Regions from separate parts of the Homo sapiens genome. Here regions 1 and 2 are each linked to region 3. The links are contacts of gene promoters, found by promoter capture Hi-C in blood cells and fetal thymus (Javierre and others, 2016). All regions are on one chromosome and are shown on one strand. Each heading gives the region's core, a stretch centred on a gene start or on the middle of the fragment in contact. The rest is flanking DNA. Distances are from core to core; before and after follow the strand shown.

Region 1 (3,895 bases), core at 205-2,704, 120 kb after region 3:
GATGCCTGCTTTGCTTACGTAACTACACCACCTTTTTTTGATTAGTGTTATCATGGCATGTCTTTCTCCAGTCCTCGCTTTTTTTTTTTAATAGACTTTATTTGTTAGAGCAGTTTAGGTTCACAGCTAAATTGAACAGGAAATACAAAGAGTTCCCACATGCCCGCCTCCCCAACATACCCATAGCATCCCCCACTTTCAGCATCCCCCACCAGAGTGGGGCACACCGTCACCCAAAGTTTACATTTGGGTCTACTCTTGATGTTGTACGTTTTACGGGTTTAACCAATGTATAATGACATATATTCATCATTATATATCTTACAGAATAGTTTTTTGGGTTTTTTCGAGACAGAGTCTCGCTCTATTGCCCAGGCTGGAGTGCGGTGGCACAGTCGCATCTCGGCTCACTGCAACCTCCGCCTCCCAGGTTCAAGCAATTCTCCTACCTCAGCCTCCCAGGTAGCTGGGATTACATGTGTATGCCACCACACGTGGCTAATTTTTGTATTTTTAGTAGAGATGGGGTCTCACCATGTTGGCCAGGCCAGTCTCAAACTCCTGACCTCAAGTGATCTGCCCACCTTGGCCTCCCAAAGTGTAGGAATTACAGGAAAGAGCCACCACACCCAGCCAGAATAGTTTCAATGCCTTAAAAATTCTGTGCTTCATATAGTTACCTTCCTTTCCCCAACCCCTGGAAACCACTGATCTTTTTATTGTCTCCATGGTTTTGCCTGTTCCAGGTTGTCATATAGTTAGAATCACCCCTTTTCTTGTATTTATTTATTTACTTATTTTTTGTTCTTAGAGATGGGGTCTCATTATTTTGCCCAGGCTGCTCTCAAGCCTCTGGGCTCGAGCAGTCCTCCTGCCTCAGCCTACCAAGTAGCTGGGACTACAGGCATGAGCCACTGTGTCCACCTACTATTAATCTGTCTTTGTCTTTTGTAGTTAAAATTAAATTTTTAAAAACATAAACCCATTTCTTTTTTTTGTTTTTTTTGTTTTTTTTTTTGAGACGGAATCTCACTTTGTCACCAGGCTGGAGTGCAGTGGCACGATCTTGACTCCCTGCAACCTCTGCCTCCTGGGTTCAAGCAATTGCCCTGCCTCAGCCTGCCGAGTAGCTGGGACTACAGGCACACGCCACCACACCCGGCTAATTTTTTGTATTTTAGTAGAGACAGGGTTTCACCGTGTTGGCCAGGACGGTCTCAATCTCCTGACCTCAGGTGATTCACCCACCTCAGCCTCCCAAAGTGCTGGGATTACAGGCGTGAGCCACCGTGCCCGGCCTTATTCTTTTTTTTTAATCTTCACTTCTTTTTATCTTCTTTTTCTGCCTTCTCTGGTTTTAGCTGAGTATTTTATATGATTCAGTTTTCTCAGCCAGGCATGGTGGCTCACGACCATAATCCCAACACTTTGGGAGGCTGAGGCGGGTAGGTCACCTGAGGTCAGGAGTTCAAGACTGGCCTGGCCAACATGATGAAACCCTGTCTCTACTAATAATACAAAAATTAACCAGGCGTGGTGGCACACACCTGTAATCCCAGCTACTTGGGAGACTGAGGCAGGAGAATCACTTGACCCCAGTAGGTGGATGTTGCAGTGAGCCAAGATCACACCATTGCATTCCAGGCTGGGCGAGAAGAGTGAAAATCCATCTCCAAAAAAAAAATGATAATAAAATAAAAATAAATTTTCTCTCCTCTCAGCATTATTAATTATGCTTTAAAAAATTTTTTTTAGTGATTGCTCTAGAGTTTACAATAAACATTTATAACCTAACTCTACTTTCAAATAATATTATACCACTTCATGGGTAGTAGAAAGAGTTCCCCACTCTTTCCTTCCATGCCCTATGACATTGGTACCACTTATTTCACTCATTCATAAACTATAGTAATTCAAGACATGGTGGCTGTTATTTGTTTGAACAGAAAGTTGTCTCTCAGATCAGTTGGGAATATGAAATACAAAAGATTCTATTTTATGTTCATTGTTTTTTTTCTCTAACATCACTCTTCCTTTCTTCATGCAGATGTGAGTTTCTGGCCTGCATCATTTATCTTCTCTCTGAAAGACTTTTAACATTTCTTGCAAGGCAGGTCTTCTGGCAACAGATTCCGGTGTCTCTTTGTTTATTTTTGTCTGACAAAGTCATTATTTCTCCTTTACTTTTGAGGCATAATTTCACTGGACACAGAATTCTAGGTTGGCAAGAGGTTTGTTTAAGCACTTTAAATATTTCACTTCACTCTTTCTTGCATGAATGGTTTCTGAAGGGAAGTGTGATGTAATGTTTTTGTGCAGGTTAAAAGAGCAGAACCTTGTGAAAGAGCTGAGGCCCCGAGACCTCCTGGAGAGCAGCAGTGACAGCGATGAGAAAGTCCCTTTGGCTAAGGCTTCCTCACTGTCCAAGCGAAAACTTGAGCTTGAGGTAGAGACAGTAGAGAAGAAGAAGAAAGGGCGGCCTCGGAAGGACTCTCGTCTCATGCCTGTGTCTCTGTCTGTCCAGGTGAGGCCAGTGGGCCCATCCTGCCTTCTTTAGCCCACCTTTCTGTACTTAGAGCTTGAAGGCCCTGTGTGCATGGTAAGCCTCAGCTGGGTGGGTCACCTTGGGAACCAGCTGGCTTAGACATGCAGCCCCTGGAATGTAGCATGGAGGCCACGCTCTCCCTCAGATGTGCCCTTGACTCACCCAGGGCCCTTGAGCAGGTTCCCTGGCATCAACTGGCTTGTCCATGAGGTTAGGATCCTTGTAGCATTCCCCTCTGCTTCCTCCCTCCCAGGGTGGAAATGCTCTGGTCGCAGGCTCAGCCTCACTTCTGGGTGACCTGCCTTTACCAAATGCTACCCCGTAGTGTTAGAGCAAGGCTCAGGAACGTTTCTGGCTCTTCCAGTCTCCAGCTGCCCTAACCGCAGAGAAGGAGGCCATGTGTCTGTCTGCACCAGCACTTGCACTGAAGCTGCCAATTCCAAGCCCCCAGAGAGCATTCACCCTCCAGGTAAGTTCTAGGACCCTGCCAGTTCTCCCTCAGGCACACCCAGACATTCTCTGTCCCCTACTGCATACAAATCCTATCTTGTCACTTCCTTGGAGATTGGTTTCCAGTGGCTCTCCATCACCTTCTGGGAGAAGTCATAGCAGATCGGGGTACCCACCAACTCTTAGCGAAATTGCCAGCCTCCACTCTCACTCACCCATAGCCTCTGTCTGGCTTTGCCCTTGGGATTCCAGCTGCTGGGGCTGCCATTACCACCACATGTTCTGGTGCTCTTCAGGACTCCTCTCAGGTGTCCTGGCTGGAAGCCACCTCCACCTCCACACACAGCCCTGGGCAGCCTCAGGCTTGGTGTCTGTGGGAATGTGTGGTCATAATCTATCTCCCAACCATCCTGCTAGCTTTGTCTTCTCAGTGTCTGGCACAGTCAATCATCAGAGTTGTTTGAGCTCTTGGAATGGAAGCTTGTAAGCATGTGGTTATCCAAAACACAATTCTGGAGTAAATAATCCTTTATACCCAGAGCCCTCCTGGTCACTTGGCCCAGCATAGTATCTAGGCCTCTCCTGCCATGGTGCCGTCACACACACTGCTGCCTCTCTGCATACCCTTGTACCTCAGCTCAGGTGCGTGTCCTCGAGCAGCCTTCTTGGACCCTGCTTGCGGGTCACTTCCCACTGGCTACACACTGCTCTGAGCCCAGGTTGGTCCTCACAGGGCACCAGAGAGCAGGCGTCAGCCCTTCCTACCATAGGTCCTTCTGGGCCACAGTGCAGAGGAATGAAGCAGGGAAGCCAAAGGGTAGGAACCCATAGGGTTTGTTCTTATTGCTGGTGTGAACGGAGGCAGGGGCCCTCCAGTGGTCAGCAGCGTTCAGACGTGCT
Region 2 (3,805 bases), core at 1,306-3,805, 90 kb after region 3:
GCTTTAGAAATTCAACCCAAAAATCTTCAAAAAGAAGCAGAAGAATGGGAGTTCTGCGAAGCCTAGCTGCCCGTACTGCTGCTGTGCTGTTGGCAGCAAGGACCGCTCGCTTTCTGTCTGGGTGAGCCTGCTATCCTGAGCTTTTGTTGCAGGACGGGAGGTGTAGGTTGGTAAAGTAGCAAGTGGAGGAAAGAGACCTGCTTTGGGTGATGCTAAGAGTGTATTTCTATTCTGCACCTGGGGTCAGCCCCTCCTTGGAAGCTCACAGGCTCTCCTGCTCTCCCAGAAGGAAGTGCTGAAGACTGGGTCTGTGCCCAGCCAGGAGAGGCCACCTTGACCCCCACCTAGACCAGCTCTTGTGTCCAGACTCAGGCAGCACCCTCAGTGGTCAATGCCATGAGCAGCATGTTGGGCTTGCTTCCTATTAGAAAAATCTTTATATGGCTGGGCGCGGTGGCTCACGCCTGTAATCCCAGCACTTTAGGAGGCCGAGGTGGGCGGATCACAAGGTCAGGAGTTCGAGACCATCCTGGCTAACACAGTGAAACCCCGTCTCTACTAAAAATACAAAAAATTAGCTGGGCGTGGTGGTGGGCGCCTGTAGTCCCAGCTACTCGGGAGGCTGAGACGGAGAATGGCGTGAACCTGGGAGGCAGAGCTTGCAGTGAGCTGAGACCGCGCCACTGCACTCCAGCCTGGGCAACAGAGCGAGACTCCGTCTCAAAAAAAAAAAAAAAAGAAAAAGAAAAATCTTTATATAAAGTGTATTCACCTGAAAGGTACAGTTTGGTGAGTTGTCATACATGTTTACACACCAGTGTCATCACTGCCTAGAGCACTCCTTTTTGTCCCTTTGTCCCTCCCCAGTCAAGACCTCCCTCACCACCAAAGCAACCACTCTAATGGCCTCTGTTACACTGATGAGTTTTGCCTGCTCTTGAACTTCATATAAATGCAATTGTGTGGTACTTGCTTCTTTGTGTCTTCATTTCTTTTGCTTGGCACAGTGTTTTTGAGATTCGTGTATGTTGCTGCACTTAACAGTATTTTATTCCTTATAATTTCGGTGTAGCATTCCACTGTATGAATACACCACAATTTGTTTATACAGTCTCCTGTTGATGGACATTAAGATTGTTCCAGTTTTGAGATATTATGACTAAAGCTGATATGAACATTCTTGTATAAGTCTTTATGTGGATGTACGTTTTCATTTATGAGTACATACCTATGAGTAGAGTTCTAAAATTAAAAAAAAAAACAAAAAAATAGTACCAAGTGTCAGCAAGGACATGATAAGCTGGAACTGATACATTGCTGACACGTGTTGCTGACAGGTGTTTACGCTGGCATGAGCACTTGGGAAAACTGTCTGGCAGTTTCTACCACAGCTAAGCATATGACCTAGAGCACTTCCACTCCTAGGCATACAACCAAGACAGATAAGTGCTTATGTCCACAGAAAAAGACACACAGAAAGCTGACGCCTCTATTAGTCCATTTCACCCCTGGGTGATGCTGTGATGGGTAAGGTTGTGAGCCTAGTACTCCTCACTCGCTGGATCCCCTGAGATGAGGCGATGTCTTCAGCTTCTTTTTTTTTTTTTTTTTTTTTTTTTTGAGACAGAGTCTCCCTCTATTGCCCAGCAGGCTGGAGTGCAGTGGTGCAATCTTGGCTTCTTGAGTCACTGCAACCTCTGCCTCCTGGGTTCGAGCGAGATTCTCCTGCCTCAGCCTCCTGAATAGCTGGGATTACAGGCCACCACACCCGGTTAATTTTTTTGTAATTTTAGTAAAGATGGGGTTTCACCATGTTGTCCAGGCTGGTCACAAACTCCTGACCTCAGGTGATCCGCCCGCCTTGGCCTCCCAAAGTACTGGGATTACAGGTGTGAGCCACCACACCCAGCCCGATGTGTCTTCAGTTTCATTGTTCCCCTCACCTTCCTAACTCAGTGCCCTCTACAGAGCAGGTTCTCAGCAGATATACTCAATGGTAGTTGGCGAGTGAGAACCCAAGGGTAAGAACTGTGGCGGTTTCTAAGTGAGGGCTCCTGAAGGGTTAAGTTTCTCACTGCCAGGGGCTGGTGTGCTGTGACCTGACTGTGTGGTAAGAGACACCTCCGCATGCAGTGCAGGGAGCAGTCTTGGTGCTGAGCATCAAGGTGCCAATATATTTAAAGTTTGATAAAGCAAAGTGCACACACATTAATTTTTTTTTTTTTTCATTTTGTAAAAAAGTGTCCCTATAAGCAGAGCAAGTTGGAAGTTCTGGGTTTGAAGGTTATCCTCTGGCTGCATTTATTAGTTTGGTATAGAGAAATATATTACTGTGTGCGTTGTGATTTTTTTTTTTTTTTTTAGGCCAAGTATTCACTTAACACCCATTCTGGAACCTGAACCACAGTACCACAGATTGCCGTTCAGGGGACCTTCCCTGTTTCCTCCCAGCCAGAGGCCCTGTTTGTGGCGCTGCAACCAAAACATCACTGACTGTGATGCCCATATTTCTTAGAATGCTCAGGTTAGGCAGTCACACGGCCTGTAGATTTCTGAGGGGTCTGTAGGCACATTTATGAGAGGAGGGACAAGGCAGCTTTTTCTAGAAGTGGAATTAAGGTGGAGGCGAGATTCTTAATGTGGGTTCCAGATCGTTCAGACTTCAGCCCCCTCTCCACCACTAGGGTAGACACAGCTTCTCCTTCCCCACATAGCAGTCTCAGGCTGCACTGGGACGCTCAGCCCCACAGCCTCCCAGAAGCTGCAGCAGCACCTATGGGAGCCCACCATCCCGTGAGGAAGTGTGTTTCTTCCCTGCCCATTGTCCTGCAGTTCAGGGCCAGCCAGCAGGGTAGCCAGGCACTTGTGCACAAGTGGAAAGGCCTACCATAGTTGTGGGAACGTGGAGTCAGAGTGTATGCCAGCAATTGAGTGACTCGATAGAGAATATGCACAGTGCATGCTATGCAGTCATCCAGAAGAGACTTTTACAGGATATTTAATGACATACTTATTGTGTGTTAAATGAAAAAACAGACACAACTATGAAGAATAAAATAAATTCTTACTTTGAAGAATAAAATAAATATTTGCACAAAATAGAAGATAATAATTCATCAAAGTATTAATAGTCGGTAACTAGGCCCAGATTAAGGGCCCAGGTGTGTATTTCTGTACTACCTACACATAGTGTAGAATGAGCCTTGGATAAATGTGTACCAGAGTCCCTTGGGCCCAGGGAAGATGTGTTGTGTTCTCTCTCAGGGTGCCTCATCCCCTGTCTAGGCTTTGGCATCGTGTCTCCTGCTCCATAGACCCTCTCAGAGGTCCACCCTGGGGCTGTCCCTCTCCTCCGACCATAGCCCTTCAGAAACCCACTCCCACTCTGCCTTCTCTGTTGCTAGTTATCTGTGTATAAAGCTATTTCCCCTGTCAGACCACAGCAAGCCCTGGAGGCAGGGTCCACTCTAGGTAGCATGCACATTTTTGGCAGGCTTTGGTTCCCACAGTTTGGGATCTCTGCAGCTGCAGTTTGAATAGAGTTGAAGATGCCTTAAATATCAGCAGCCACTTTGACCCAGGCTTCTAGGTTGGTTATGTTAACTGAGCTGAATACAGAAGGGGATTTCAGTAATTTCATTAACCTTGACTGTGTCTTTCCTTCCAGCTCACATGTCTGAAACGGCCGCTGGTGGTCATCCATGAACTGTTTGACAAATCCATCATGGATATTTCCTGGTAAGGTGGATTCTACTTACAGGAATAGGTTAAGAAAGGAGAAGCCACACATTGGAACATGAGGCCT
Region 3 (3,957 bases), core at 53-2,552:
CTTCTACAACTTGGGCGTGGTAAGTCACCAGTAAATACAGCATGTTTTTCTCTTCCATATTGCCTAATGTAGCTGATACTTAAATACACGCTTAATCTATCGTGGAAATAGAATGCTGTGTCAAGAAATTACAATTGAGTAAAAAGCCACGTTATTCTAAAACGCATCTTCAATACCTGTTCTTTATGCTCAAGAAATGCAGTTTCAAGTTCTTGCCACCCAGAAACTGGAACCAGCGTATATTGCACGTGGTCACACTGGAACAAGGCCTGGAGAGAGAGTGTTTTCAAAGCCTATCTTATTTAGGACATTAGCAATTTACCTTGAAAAGAAACTGAGGAAGATTAGACGGGTTGAGAGACAAAAGACACGGGATAACATTAAAGCTAGTGAAATGCTTACGGGAAAAGCTAGGTGCTAGGGATATGAGCGTTTACCATACCATTCTGTGAATTTTGCAAATTACCAAAGTAAAACATCGGGGAGAAATGCCGATTTAACTTCCAGGCCTTCTGAAAAGTTCCTGATCCAAGGGCCTGACCAAAACAACGTAAATACTATGCCCTATTCAAAACCAAACTAACGATCTTCCCTAATAGACTAGGGGCTCCCATATTCCCAGCAACACCTGTGACACGACTATACCCACAGTTGTCACAGATTCCTCTCTCTCAAATCCCCCATTTGAGAGGCCACGACAGATCCAAAGTTTCCCCCAAATGCAACTGCTGTGTTCACCTATTAATATTAATAGCTTATTGCAAAAATACAAACTAGTCTCTTTACCTTTTACTTAATCCTTTATCCCACCCCACACCGTTGGGACAGGGAGGCAACCTCTCCTCCGAGTCTCTCTCCTCTCACTTGCTGTTCACCTCCTGCCCTGCTCCCTCTCCCACCCTAAGCCCTCAGCACCCATCCTGACACTCTGCCCGCCCTGCGCCCCCACGCAGCACCCTCACCTCGCGCGCCGGCCCCGCCCTCCTAGGGTCCGCAGAACTCACCTGAAGGATCTTGCACGCACACAGAGCATCCACGTCCGAGGCCACGAAGAGAAGGACCCTCTATCGGGGAAGAGCAGACCGGCTGAACACGGCGACCCGAACCCCGGCCCTCCCCTGCCTCCCGGTCACCCACGGTCGCTCCCCCTCATCCCTTCCCCACCGGCAAGGCCTCGGCGGGGGTCCCGGACTGGGCGTCACCTGGCTCTGGACCACCTCGTAGAACTCTTTGCGGAAATCGGACACGAACATAGCCACGGCGGCCGGACGCCTGGCGCTCGCGCTGAGGTACCAAGAGCCCGGCGGCGGTCAAGACTCCCGCCAAATCACGGCTCCTCCGATTGGTCCAGGGATCACCAACCAATAGCTTCTTAGTTCCCAGCCTTCCTTTCTTTCTGATTGGGCCACATTGGAGGCGGCCATTAGCGCTCTGCCATTCACGGCCAGAAAACTCCAGCCCGCCCCCAAAGAAGCGTCACCTCTGAGGCCGAACGCAAACACTGTTGCCCCCTTCAACTCTGACTCGCTTTTACCCAGAAAAGCGACGCTGGGCGGACATCTTTACTTTGGGAAGAGAAGCCTACTGCCTCCCACTGGGAACCCTCAGGGAAAGTATACTTCTAACCATACATTAAACTCAGTCACATACCCAATGGGGCAGCATTTACGTTTGCAATAGGTTTTTGGTGTGGTTTGAAGAAGGATTTGTAGCTTAGTTCCGCCCGAGTCCTCGATGGCTGAAGCAGAGGCAGTCTGGGTAGTGCATTGTGGGTAGTGTAGTCGTAAGGACAATGGGCCCTACTAAATTCGTCTGGAGGGGAATACTGTCAACACGTAATTTAAAATAACGTTTAAAAATACCTATAAAAGGGGAAATAAATCACGAAAGGGCATTTTAATGCTTCTACTGAGGGTGTTTTAGAGCCTAGCGTCTTCGCCTGGCCTTTTCTCTTTTGCAGCCGACGCTTTGTCCCGGGCACCCCCCCTCCGGGTCTCGGGTCCGGCACTTCCGGTGAGCCTCTGGGGCGTACCGGCTTGGCGCGGCGGCAGCGGCAGCGGCGGCTGGGAGAGCGGTCGGCGGGGTTTCTTCGTTGCATTGCCTGAGAGGAGCGGAGTCTGCCAGGTGGTGTCCATCATGGTAAGCGCTGACGGGCAGCGGGCGGGGGCTGGGCCTTGGCCCGGGGCCTGAGGTAGGGCCCGGCGGGGCAGGGCGGGGCGGGACGGCGGCGGAGGTGCCGAGTCACCCGGGCCTGAGTCCGGCCTGCAGGCTCATCGGCCGCACCGGGCACAAGCAGGACCCTTGACCACTAACCGCCTGTGGTCGCGTCCGCCGGTCCTGAACGTGGCTCGCATTCTGTCTCAGCCGGACTTGCCCTCCTTGACGAAAGAAAGGAAGGTTTGTGTCCATTCACGGGTTTCCCAAGTGCTGGACGCGCAACAGGTTTCCATAAACCCAAAGTTAGTTGCAAGGTTGCTGGGGATGGGAACAGAATCAGGGCGCTCCCCAGGGAGAATCCGTAGTGGGCATCCCCCGCTCTTGGGGGACACCCAGCTCTTGCCCCAGCTCCGTGAGCTCCGTGCCTACGGGTTCGTGCCTTCGAATCTGTACAGCGGTGTTGTGTTCGGTAATGATAACGATGGAAGCTAATACCTGCTGGTACATTTCCTGTTACACAGCTTTTAACACCTGTACTCCCTCATCGCGGCTTATTTCTTTTAATCCCTACAATCCCTTTGGAAGCAAGGATGATGATGATTTTAAACATGAGAAAACTAACGTTTACAGAGGTACTTTATTCGAGTCACAGAAGTAGGGACTGGAGAGTTGAAGCCAAGTCTGTCTGGCTGCAAAGCACTCTACGGTATTGTCTTCCTGTCACCTGTTTATTTTAGTAAAGACAAGGAATGATTGTTAGATTTTATCCCAAGTGTGTCACTGTCAAACCCTGGCTTATTTCTATTCTTGAGTTCATCCACTCAAGAATACCTGATATGTTCCAGGCAGTGTGCTAGGTCTCGGGATTGAAAAGGAAAGTGAGAGATGGGATCGGGAGCAGCAAAGAAGGGGCAGAAGGTCGGGTTCATGGGTAAACTGCAGGCAGGTTGTTAAGTATGTTGCCCCTTTGTGCGGATTTACCTTTTATATTCAAAGAGAAGAAATGGCTTACATAGGTTGGCTAGTGAGAAGCACTCAAGGGAAGCAAGCCCCTACCCTGTTCTGGCCTTGTTCACCCAGAAACGCTATTTCCTGTGTTATGGTTCTGGCCAAGATTTAGCTGAACAGTTATGCTGCTTAAAAGAAGAAAGACAAAAGATTGGAAATTACTGTGTTAGAGTGCCAGGGAGTAAAGAACCATCCCAGATTTTAGGCGGGAACATGCTATGTTTGCATTTTGGGAGATGGCTAATTCAGCTTGCTAATTTTGGAGTTGCTAGTAAACTGCTTTGTCAGTAGGTGGCATTCCTTCTACTAAATATATATTTGGAATCAAGTCAAGAAATTTTCTCTAATACAGATTTTTTTTTAGTTGTGGTTAAAAAAACCAAATTTTTATCATCTTAACCGTTTTTCAGTCTATAGTTCAATAGTGTTGAGTACATTCACGAGCAACAGATTTTCAGAACTTTTTCATCTTGCAAAAGTGAAACTCTACTCACATTAAACAATAGCTCTCCATTTTCTGCTCCTCACAGCCCCTGTCAATCTCTGTTCCACTTTGTCTCCATGAATTTGCCTACTCTAGGTACTTCCTAGAAGCGGACTCATAAAATATAAGTCCTTTTATGACTGACTTACTTCACTTGGCATGATATCCTCAAGGTTCATCCATGTGACAGGATTTCTTTCCTTTTAAAAGCTGAATAATATTTCATTGTATGTATATACCATACCACAATTTGTTTATTCATTCATCTGTCATTGGACACTTGAGTTGCTTCCACCTTTTAGCTATTA

What was found. The method cuts DNA at HindIII sites, captures the fragments that hold promoters and counts their contacts. A CHiCAGO score of 5 or more calls a contact.
Region 1: a fragment that was not itself captured here is called in contact with the fragment with the promoter of CDC45 in region 3 in 1 of 17 cell types (total B cells); the score reaches 5.2 in total B cells.
Region 2: a contact is called between a fragment that was not itself captured here and the fragment with the promoter of CDC45 in region 3, in 2 of 17 cell types (erythroblasts and total CD8 T cells). The highest score is 6.0, in erythroblasts.

The regions. Positions count from the first base shown.
Region 1 is chr22:19,360,356-19,364,250 of GRCh38, reverse strand. It overlaps HIRA (histone cell cycle regulator), which reads left to right. Exons shown (of 25, transcript NM_003325.4): 16 at 2,320-2,524; 17 at 2,910-3,014. Among named protein-coding and RNA genes, the nearest start is that of HIRA, 69 kb to the left of the region's middle. The HindIII fragment of the contact is 4,046 bases long and covers 1-3,477 here.
Region 2 is chr22:19,388,417-19,392,221 of GRCh38, reverse strand. It overlaps HIRA (histone cell cycle regulator), which reads left to right. Exons shown (of 25, transcript NM_003325.4): 9 at 8-121; 10 at 3,668-3,738. Among named protein-coding and RNA genes, the nearest start is that of HIRA, 41 kb to the left of the region's middle. The HindIII fragment of the contact is 5,446 bases long and covers 1-3,805 here.
Region 3 is chr22:19,477,265-19,481,221 of GRCh38, reverse strand. It overlaps CDC45 (cell division cycle 45), which reads right to left and starts at 1,302. Exons shown (of 19, transcript NM_003504.5): 1 at 1,203-1,302; 2 at 1,005-1,064; 3 at 177-269. The coding sequence starts at 1,253. UFD1 (ubiquitin recognition factor in ER associated degradation 1) reads left to right here and starts at 2,029. Exons shown (of 12, transcript NM_005659.7): 1 at 2,029-2,139. The coding sequence starts at 2,137. RefSeq lists silencers at 1,353-1,402, 2,193-2,262 and an enhancer at 1,493-1,792. The HindIII fragment of the contact is 12,348 bases long and covers 1-3,957 here.